Linked DNA regions of Homo sapiens: region 1 is linked to region 2. Evidence: promoter capture Hi-C in 16 types of primary human blood cells and fetal thymus (Javierre and others, 2016). All regions are on one chromosome and are shown on one strand. Each heading gives the region's core, a stretch centred on a gene start or on the middle of the fragment in contact. The rest is flanking DNA. Distances are from core to core; before and after follow the strand shown.

Region 1 (4,223 bases), core at 1,496-3,995, 1.7 Mb before region 2:
TTGCCAAGCAACCCAGATGTTCGTTTTCTAGGTTTGCCTGGGCACAGGCTTATCCTATAACCTTCTCTGTGGTGCCCAGGCAGCTGTAGTTCAGGCCTACTCAGGCTTTTTATGACCTTCGTTGTACTACTTAGATAAAACAGAATACTTGAAATCACTAGTTACAGAGAACAAGAGTCTATAAACTCATTCTGTAAAACAAAGGAAAATTTGTTTTTCTTCTCCCTGTGTTGAGGGAGTGCTGAGAGAGTCTCCAGAGCATATTAGATAATATTATCAAGACTTTTCCTGGGTCTAGGCTGTGCCTGTTGCTGCTTCTGGAACAAGTTAGCCTAAAACAGGAAAACTTATTTCTCTTTCTTTTTAATTTTATTGTTCTTTAATTTCCCGCCTCAACCTTACTGCGAATAATATTCTGCCACTTTATTTAAATCCTGGCTTAGTTTAAGGAGAAACGTAAAGATGGGTTTCCTGGTAGAATAGGAGTAAACAGGACTGACTGTGACCTCACTGCTAATGACATGTACCTTCCTTTTACTTTCTCAAAACCGAAGATTCCCTTATTGGCATGAGGACTGTTTCAAAAGTACTTACATTTCCCACCTGCATTGTGATTGATGTGTTGAATGCCCTGACCCAGGCAGCTACAGAAACATAATTTAATTGAAGTCGGTTAAAAATTGTGCCTTTGTGGAAAGTGTGGAGAAGGACTTCAAGATGATATAAAGCAGAATAGAAAAGCTTAAAAGAATTCAATTTAGAAAAATGTAATTTTTGGTACCTCTATTAAAAATATATTTTGACTTTTTTAAAAATGAGCAATTCTTTGTGTTTAAAATGGAATGTTAGTGGGGATATTTGTGGTATGTTCTAAATGTTCTGTAGAACTGGATTTAGGTATTTGAGTAACAGCAGATATTAGAGTGCATGGTTATATATACAACAATGTTGTCAGTATTGAAATACACATTCAGTGTCTTAGACTTTTAAGAAGATTTTTGATTGACAAAAACCATTCATTGGAACATAGTCTCTTCTATACCTTGTTTCACTTAGCATCTCTTTGAGAATTTACATATCTGCATGTCCAGATCCACTCCACAGCGATTCCTGCCTAGTCTTTTATAGGATACACTAATTATGAAAATATTTACCAATAAATAAGCACTCATTAGGTTTACAGACAACTGTTGTCAGAAGTGTTTGTGGCCATATCTTTTTACTTGCACATGTAAGCATAGATGTAAAATAAAAATCGTATGACAATTTGAGTTAAAGAGTTTGTAGATTTTACATTTTCCTAGGTATTTCAAAATTTTTCCAAAATAAGTTGCCCAATTTTACAAGCCTATCTAAAGCCTCCACTAATACAACATGGTAGTAAAGAGCTGCCCTGCCCCTCTGGGCTGAAAATTGCCAAAAGACGTCCTTCCTGAGACTGACTCAGCTTTCACTAGCAGAACGCCTCCTGGATCTCCGGTCCCCCACCTCTCTCTCACCCTAGGGGTAGTGCCTTTCAGTGTACAAGCTGCACAACTGTCCTTGGTGGCCCTGCCCTCCCTTTCAGTGTGTATAAGAGTGCCCATTTCCTCCCATGTGCCATCGAAGATTTTTTATTTTTGCCGTCTTGACAGATGAAAAACAGTATCTTTTAACTTTTCAAATTAATTTAGAAGAAAACTTCTCATTCTCATCTTATAGTGCGTTAGTTTTGCAAAAGCAGATCCAGTGATTCCAGCACCTGCTATGTACCCTTAACTGCTCTAGGTGCCAGGGAAACGAGGGAACACAACAGAAAAAGTCCCTTGCCATCAGGAATGTATATTCCGACTTCACCATTTGGCTACACATCTGCATATTTGTTTTCAAGCTTGTGTGCAGTGAATTTTAAAGTCTCAATTTATATTTCTAGTTGAATATACTGTGTACTGCTCTTTGCCCTGCCATTTTGATAAGTTGATGAAAACCAGCTCTATGCCTAAGTACCCCAAAGCTTCTGTTTATAATGAGGTAAAATTGTGTCAAAAATAGGCTCTACTAAAGTTTTGCATAGAAGATTTTATGTAATTATATAATAGTTCTTCCTTGGGTCCAAAGGCTCTAAAATGACCCTTTGCCCTTTACAATTTTGGCCCTATTTCTGAGGATGTTTTTGAAGTCTGCATTTTTTGAAACCTCATAGTTTCATTGCCTGAAAATGATACAATGAAAGTACTTTGTATTAAGATATGTAAATCCATTCCTACCTCCAAAGTTTCTTTGAAAAATGCAAAAAAAAGAGTTCTTACTTCGAAATGCTTCATATTCATGAAAGCAGTTTTAATGCAAAATACTTTATTCTGTTAGCTATTAGTTCTTTGATCAATGAAAATTGTTTCTTACCTGCTGTTTCTGCAGCCTTTAATTGTAGCCCAGTGCTTATTCAATGTTTCTGTTTTAATTTGCATTTAATGAGCTCATTTTAAATGTTTCTTCGTAGTAATCTGAATGGTTTCTCTCCCTCAATTTTGTAATATTAAAGAGACTCATGTGACAGTCGGCTGATTTATGTTGCAGCTCACCTCCCTGGCTTATTTACTTCATCCTGTAGCATAGAATCTTGGTTAAAAGGAATTACAGTAATAGGATTCTTTTCCCCCAGTAATTTCCTAATTACCTAGGACTCTTAACAGATTAACTCAAATGTCTGTTTTTCACCAAATAGAAACCTTTTTTCCTTGAATGAATAGGTATTTATGATTATTATTTCAGTGTCATTTCTTTATACCATATGTATTAGATGGTGCTGGGTAGGGATGGGTACACATAGGTTGTATTTGTCTATATATTGCCTGTGGGGAAGGTACATAGAAATGACCATTTCTTCCCAATAAGTTTGTGGCCTAGTTGGGCTGATTAGGCTTATATTGGTGGTATAGATTGCACCTTCACCACCACAGAAGAAGAGTAATTAGAAAGATGTATGTACATATCAGCACACACATACATGCCTGCAACACGTGATTTTTCATGTTTCTTTTGTTCATTTGATTCTCGTTGATCTGAATGCCCTTTCTTTCTGTTGAACATCTCAAAACTACTGTTCATCACTCAAGATCCAGTTCCAATGGCACCAACTTTATGTGAAATTTTCCATGTCACCTCTTACCCTCTTTTTAGTGTGAGGCAATTAGCACCTCCTTTAGAGTCAGCCAACATTTTAGTAACTACCCTTCATCAGGTCCTTGTTCATAGTCTAGAAGGGGTACAGAAAAGTAAAGATTTACAAACCTGAAAGGTGGGTATCATAATATAGGTTTATACAAGGAAGTACTGGAAAACTCAGCCTATAGAGCTTGGAAGATCCAGCTGTTTCCCAGTGGAGCCATTCCAGTTTTCCTGCAGGACAAGTAGGAGTTAACTAGGTGAAGGCGGCCTTCTAGACAGGCATGGAGGGGAGAGAAGAGAATAGAATGAAAGGTATCTGGTGAGGCTGCAGGCACACCAGATAAGCTTTGTCAAGGAGGTAGGTTTAAAGTTGGCGATAGGGAGGAGTCACTGAACCATTATCTACAAAAGAGCATTATGAACAGGTTGTATTTTAGAAAGATGTCTGTGGCAGTACTAGAAAGTTATGAAATAGAACGTTGTAGAAAATAGTTACACTAGTGCCAGCAAGTCCAGATAAAGTGTTAATAGAGGACTTCTCATGACCTTCATTGTACTTCTTAGATAAAACAGAATACTTGAAATCACTAGTTACGGAGAACAAGCGTTTATAAACTCACTCCATAAAACAAAGGAAAGAAGTCCAGATAATGTTTAATAGAGGACAGTCTTCGACTGAGAATGGCAGGGTAATTGTGCAGTAGGAGATGGCTTTTCTCAGGGTGTTGACATTGATTTGATATGTCATTACATCATCTCTGATTAAAGGCCATATTTCTTTTTAAAAAGTTCTTATTTTTGTAGAATAGATTAATGTCTCTTATTGACAGGTGTTTTATTTCATGTTACTAAAGCTTTATTTGTATTCCAAAAATAGTTTGTATCTCCTTCTTTGATATGTGGAACATGATGCTTAGGGTTCTATTTATAGTTTCTTCTCTGTGTGGAGAGAACAATGTCATCAGAGCTGTGGATATCGTGTCACCCAGAATAGTGCAGAATAGTTTCTTCCTCTTAGATATCTGCATGACTCATATACCTAGGCACATATTAAGACCATCTATGGGCCGGGCGCG
Region 2 (4,402 bases), core at 1,066-3,565:
TCCTCTAAAATGGTTAAAAAAAAAAGTTCAAATGAACAACTGGATAGACCCCCTACATCTTTTACCAAAGATCTACAGTAATTCTGTCAGAGGTCAGTTCTATGTATTGAAGAGCAGGTGGTGACAACGAGGACATAAAAAAGAGAAAACAACAGCTTTGTCAAGTAATCTGTTTTACAGATTTTTCTATTGTAAAATTAACTGCAATGTTGCTAAGAAAAATATTGAGATCTTCTTGTTCCGTACACTGCTGTTCACTTACAGTTGGATGAAACCCATTATCCTGACCTATTTTTATTATAACACAGACAGAAGCCTGACTGAAAAGTCAAGTTTTTTTTTTTTTTTACCACTGAAGCAGCAGTCATTTTTGCAGCACATTTTCATTTCTCTGCCCTTCTCGCTTTTACCTAAGAATGCTCATGTCCATTTCTTTCCGGAGTAGGGTTATACAGAATTCTAATTTCTGATCCGCCCATTTGGATAATGAATTCTTCATGGTGGTTAAAGACATGGGCTGTGCAGCCAGACCTTTCTTCATTACCAGCTGTGAAACCCTGGACAAGATACTTAAACTGTGTGCCTCAGTTTCCTCATCTGTCAAAAAGAGAGTATAACAGGACCTACCTCATAGAGTTGTTGAAAAGATTAAATGGGTTAATAGAAATAAAGACAATGGCCTATTTTAACCGTTAAGTGTTCACTATTAATTTTAAAGAAAAAGGTATCAAAATTGCTCGAAAACTGATCCGTTAACAAATTTATAATAAACTTTCTGACAAAATTTCTAAAAATACTAGATGTATTCAAAAGGAACCAAAGGAATTCTCATTACACCCTGTACCATTATTCAGAGAAGTTGTTCCTTAGAAGTACCCAGAACTATCTCAGAATTAAAAGAGGCAACTAATTTCTTCACAGCTTATAAAAATAAAACAAATTTGTTTGGGCCAACTGAATGATGACAAGCAAGAATATGGCTCCTGTGTTCAGTTCTAACTACAGTTACAGGTGTGAATTTTCTTTAAGCAGGAAAAAGAGGACACTTTACTGCCTTATTCCTAGAACCATAGAGCAAGACCATAAGATGCCAAGAGGAGCTGCCGAGGTATTTTCATTACAGGGGACAGGGGGCAGCAGTTTGCAAGTTTACTCTGGGATGCAAAGGACAGGGAGTAAGAGGACATTTGAACATACAAACATAGGCACGTAAAAAGAGGGAAATTCTCAGTTATGGTGAGTTTGTTCTCTCAATTAAAAAAAAAATAAAGACATAAAAATAAGTTAATAGAGTATGGAAGAAAAAGCAACAAATGCTTTGGTTACCGAAGTTCCACCTTAGAGCTTCCTGCAGTAGCAAAGTTTTAGACAAATGAATCCTTACTTTTGTGCACGTGTGAGCAACAATCTGCACAATACTAGCACTAAAGGACAGTAAGGGGCCCTCAGAACAGGAAAGCAACGTATCTGTCTGCATAGTCTAAGTGCAATTTCTCACGGAAGAGATGACAGGCATTCTCTGGAGCGGGCAAAAGGAGAGGAGGAGGAGAACGCGGGGAAATAGCCAGTACGCACTCGATTTCCGAATGTCTCTTTTACTCGAATGAGGGCAGAGGGGAGGGACCACTTTCGTTCAGTAATGATGAGAGGCACTTCAGTGAGGCCACTCTTCCGAAGCTAGCGGCAGGGGAGGCAGCCGCACTCTGCTCCCAGCCCCCGCAACGTTGAGGGTGAGCTGGGGGAGTCTACAAGGGAAGGGGAGCCGGCAACACGCTCGAGCGGAACCCTGCGGAGCTGCAACCCCGGGAGGAGTCGCCGGACAGACTCAGACGCGGTCCCCTGGGACCCAGGGATGCACCGCGCCCCTCCCGCCCCAGCCTGCAGAGACTGGATGCTTCCCTCCCCACCTGGCGGGAAGCAGAGGCCCTCGGGCCCGACCGAGTTCGGGCCAGGACCCGCCCCGCTTTCTGCGAGCGACCGACTGCGGCCGCCACACTCACCTCGCCGCCAAGCAGCACTCGGGTTCTGACTCGGTCTCGGGTTCCGGTGGCGGTGGTGGCGGCGGCGGCGGTGGCGGCGGCTCCTCCATGGCGGCGGCAGGCGTGACGGCAAAGGCGGGAGGAGGGACCAGCGCGGCAGCGGCTTCTCTCATCCGTGCACGGAGCCCCGCATGGCCGCGGCGGGCAGTAAGCTGCAGCCTGGCGCGGGGCACCGGAGCCCCGAAGTGCGGGAGTGACTCGACTCCGCCTCCGCCTCTACCCCGCCGCAGGAGCCGTGCGCGCCGCGGCCATCTTGGAAACGGCGACCGGCCGAGCGCCGGGGCTACGGTGGGCGGCGAGGGACAAGCCTCCCAGATCGGCGGCGGTGGCGGCGGCGGCGGCGGGCGCCGGAATGCGACCGGACGGGGGCGGAGACGGCGGCAGGGAGGGGCGGGGAGCGCCGTCAAGTGTCGGCGCGATTCGGTCCTGGAGCCGGGTCTCGCCAGCTCGCCCGGTGTCGCCCCGGCCGGTGGCAGTGGGGGACTGTGGAGCGGAGCCGGGCTGTGCAGCGGGCTGGGAGCTCGAGGCTTCCCAGGCGGTCGTCGGTCTGGGAGGGACGCTGGGTAGGGCCGATGAGCGGGGCGGGCGCGACGCTATGAGCCCGGCCGGAGTCGCCGCCCAGGGACCTGCCACCCGGATCCCACCTTCCAGGAGGACGGACGTCACCCAGACGCTCGCAACTCCGGTCTCTTGACAGCGCAGCCTTCCACAGGCTCGAATTTTTAAGACTTGACATAAAGTCTCCGGAATTCCAGATTATTAAAGTGACCCCCTCATTTCAACCCGGCAAAACTTCTCACCCCAGTGTCATAAGATTCGATAGCGATCTCCCAGAAACTTGGACTGGAATGCTCCTACACTGAGGGGATGGGGGGAAGAAGAAATGCTAAAGATTATTTCAGAGTTACAGAAATCCTGTTGAAATTCCAATGCATCGTTTACTCTTAGCGCTGGGGCTTCACAGTTTTTTTTTAAGTTGGAAATATTTACAAAATTTCCCATAGGGTGAAATCCAGAGTTAATCCAAAACCAGAATCTTTTAAAATTAAGTACATTCAAATGTGCAGATTTCTTAAACCTCATTTAGTTGAGCTTTGATAGGTGAAACGCACGTTTTGAACAACTCTGGTAACAAAGAAAAACATTAAATTGATTATAGGTATGTTATATTTAAAGACCAGTTGTGAAATTAGCTATATTGTGCTCAAAGTATGTTACTGACATTTCTCCGTCGTTAAAAGGAACTGCTCCATTCTAGTTTTTTATAATAGTCTGTATTATGTATATAGCCTGATAGTGCTGAATTTCTGAATTGACCTTCATCTTATTTACTCAATAATATTCATTTGACAAATACTTATTAAGTGCATATATGTGTCAGGAACTGTACTAGATGCTGAGGATATAGCAGTAAGCGCAACAGACCAAGCTAACAGCTTAGTAAAGGGTGAGGTAAAACAAAACAAAAAAGTATTCAAAAAAATAAACTAATTTTTATCTTAATTTAAAAAATTACAAATTTTTAAAAATCACAAATTGGTATCCATGTATAATTCATTTCCGTGCATTTTCTTGTGTGAAGAAAGCTCAGTAAAAGTATTTCTTAGGTTTCTGTAATTCTAGTTCTCTACTCGATTTTCTTCTGCAATTTTCTGAGCCAGAACCCTTCTTAGAAGGCATATTAGAGACTTTAAAAGTTAAATAATAAAATAAATCTCTTCTTTAAACAGCATTGTACTACGTATTCTTTGGTATGACTACCGAATTTAAGCTAGCTGATAATGCAGACACGTGTGTCCAAGTCACAAAACACTTAGCAAATATAATCAGCATGCGGGAGACCTGTGGCTTGTTCTTGTGTTTTAATTTCCACTTGAGGATACTATGTATTTTAGCAGGAACCAAGTAAATTTACACTTACCTAATCAAGTAATGCATCATGTATAGAAACCTAAGTTAACTGGTACTAAATATTCAATATAAGTGTTGTGACTTTTCGCCCCACCCCCATGCTGGGTCCAGGAAAGCTGTTTCTCTGGCTGACAACCCTCTCATCTCACCCCGTGCCCCCACTTTGTCTTCAGGGCTCCCAGTGAGCGCCTCACAGCCCCCAGATTTCTTTTCTGCCTTCTCCACCATAGTGTAAGCTCCTTCAGGAAAGAAGCTGTTCTTCCTTCTTCTGACCTTTGCCTAGGGATCAAATGTCTCTGGTGCCCAACATGGTGTTAGTAGAACTCAGTAAGTATTGTTGCATTAATGAAATAGTTATTTTTTTTAAGTTATTAGATTTTTGTCTCTAAATTTTTATTCTTGTTTAGCACATGGTTGGTCTCATTGTCTCATTACCTTTAATAATGTTCTTT

What was found. Contacts are between HindIII fragments. The CHiCAGO score rates a contact against its expected background, and 5 or more counts as called.
Region 1: a contact is called between a fragment that was not itself captured here and the fragment with the promoter of MAP3K4 in region 2, in 1 of 17 cell types (monocytes). The highest score is 7.5, in monocytes.

The regions. Positions count from the first base shown.
Region 1 is chr6:162,720,739-162,724,961 of GRCh38, reverse strand. The region is part of intron 1 of PRKN (parkin RBR E3 ubiquitin protein ligase); the gene reads left to right. Among named protein-coding and RNA genes, the nearest start is that of PRKN, 4.9 kb to the left of the region's middle. The HindIII fragment of the contact is 1,499 bases long and covers 1,996-3,494 here.
Region 2 is chr6:160,989,682-160,994,083 of GRCh38, reverse strand. It overlaps MAP3K4 (mitogen-activated protein kinase kinase kinase 4), which reads right to left and starts at 2,315. Exons shown (of 27, transcript NM_005922.4): 1 at 2,001-2,315. The coding sequence starts at 2,152. It overlaps MAP3K4-AS1 (MAP3K4 antisense RNA 1), which reads left to right and starts at 1,742. Exons shown (of 1, transcript NR_174962.1): 1 at 1,742-3,766. RefSeq lists silencers at 1,510-1,639, 1,553-1,847, 2,310-2,639 and enhancers at 1,908-2,777, 2,730-2,799, 2,820-2,879. The HindIII fragment of the contact is 10,290 bases long and covers 1-4,402 here.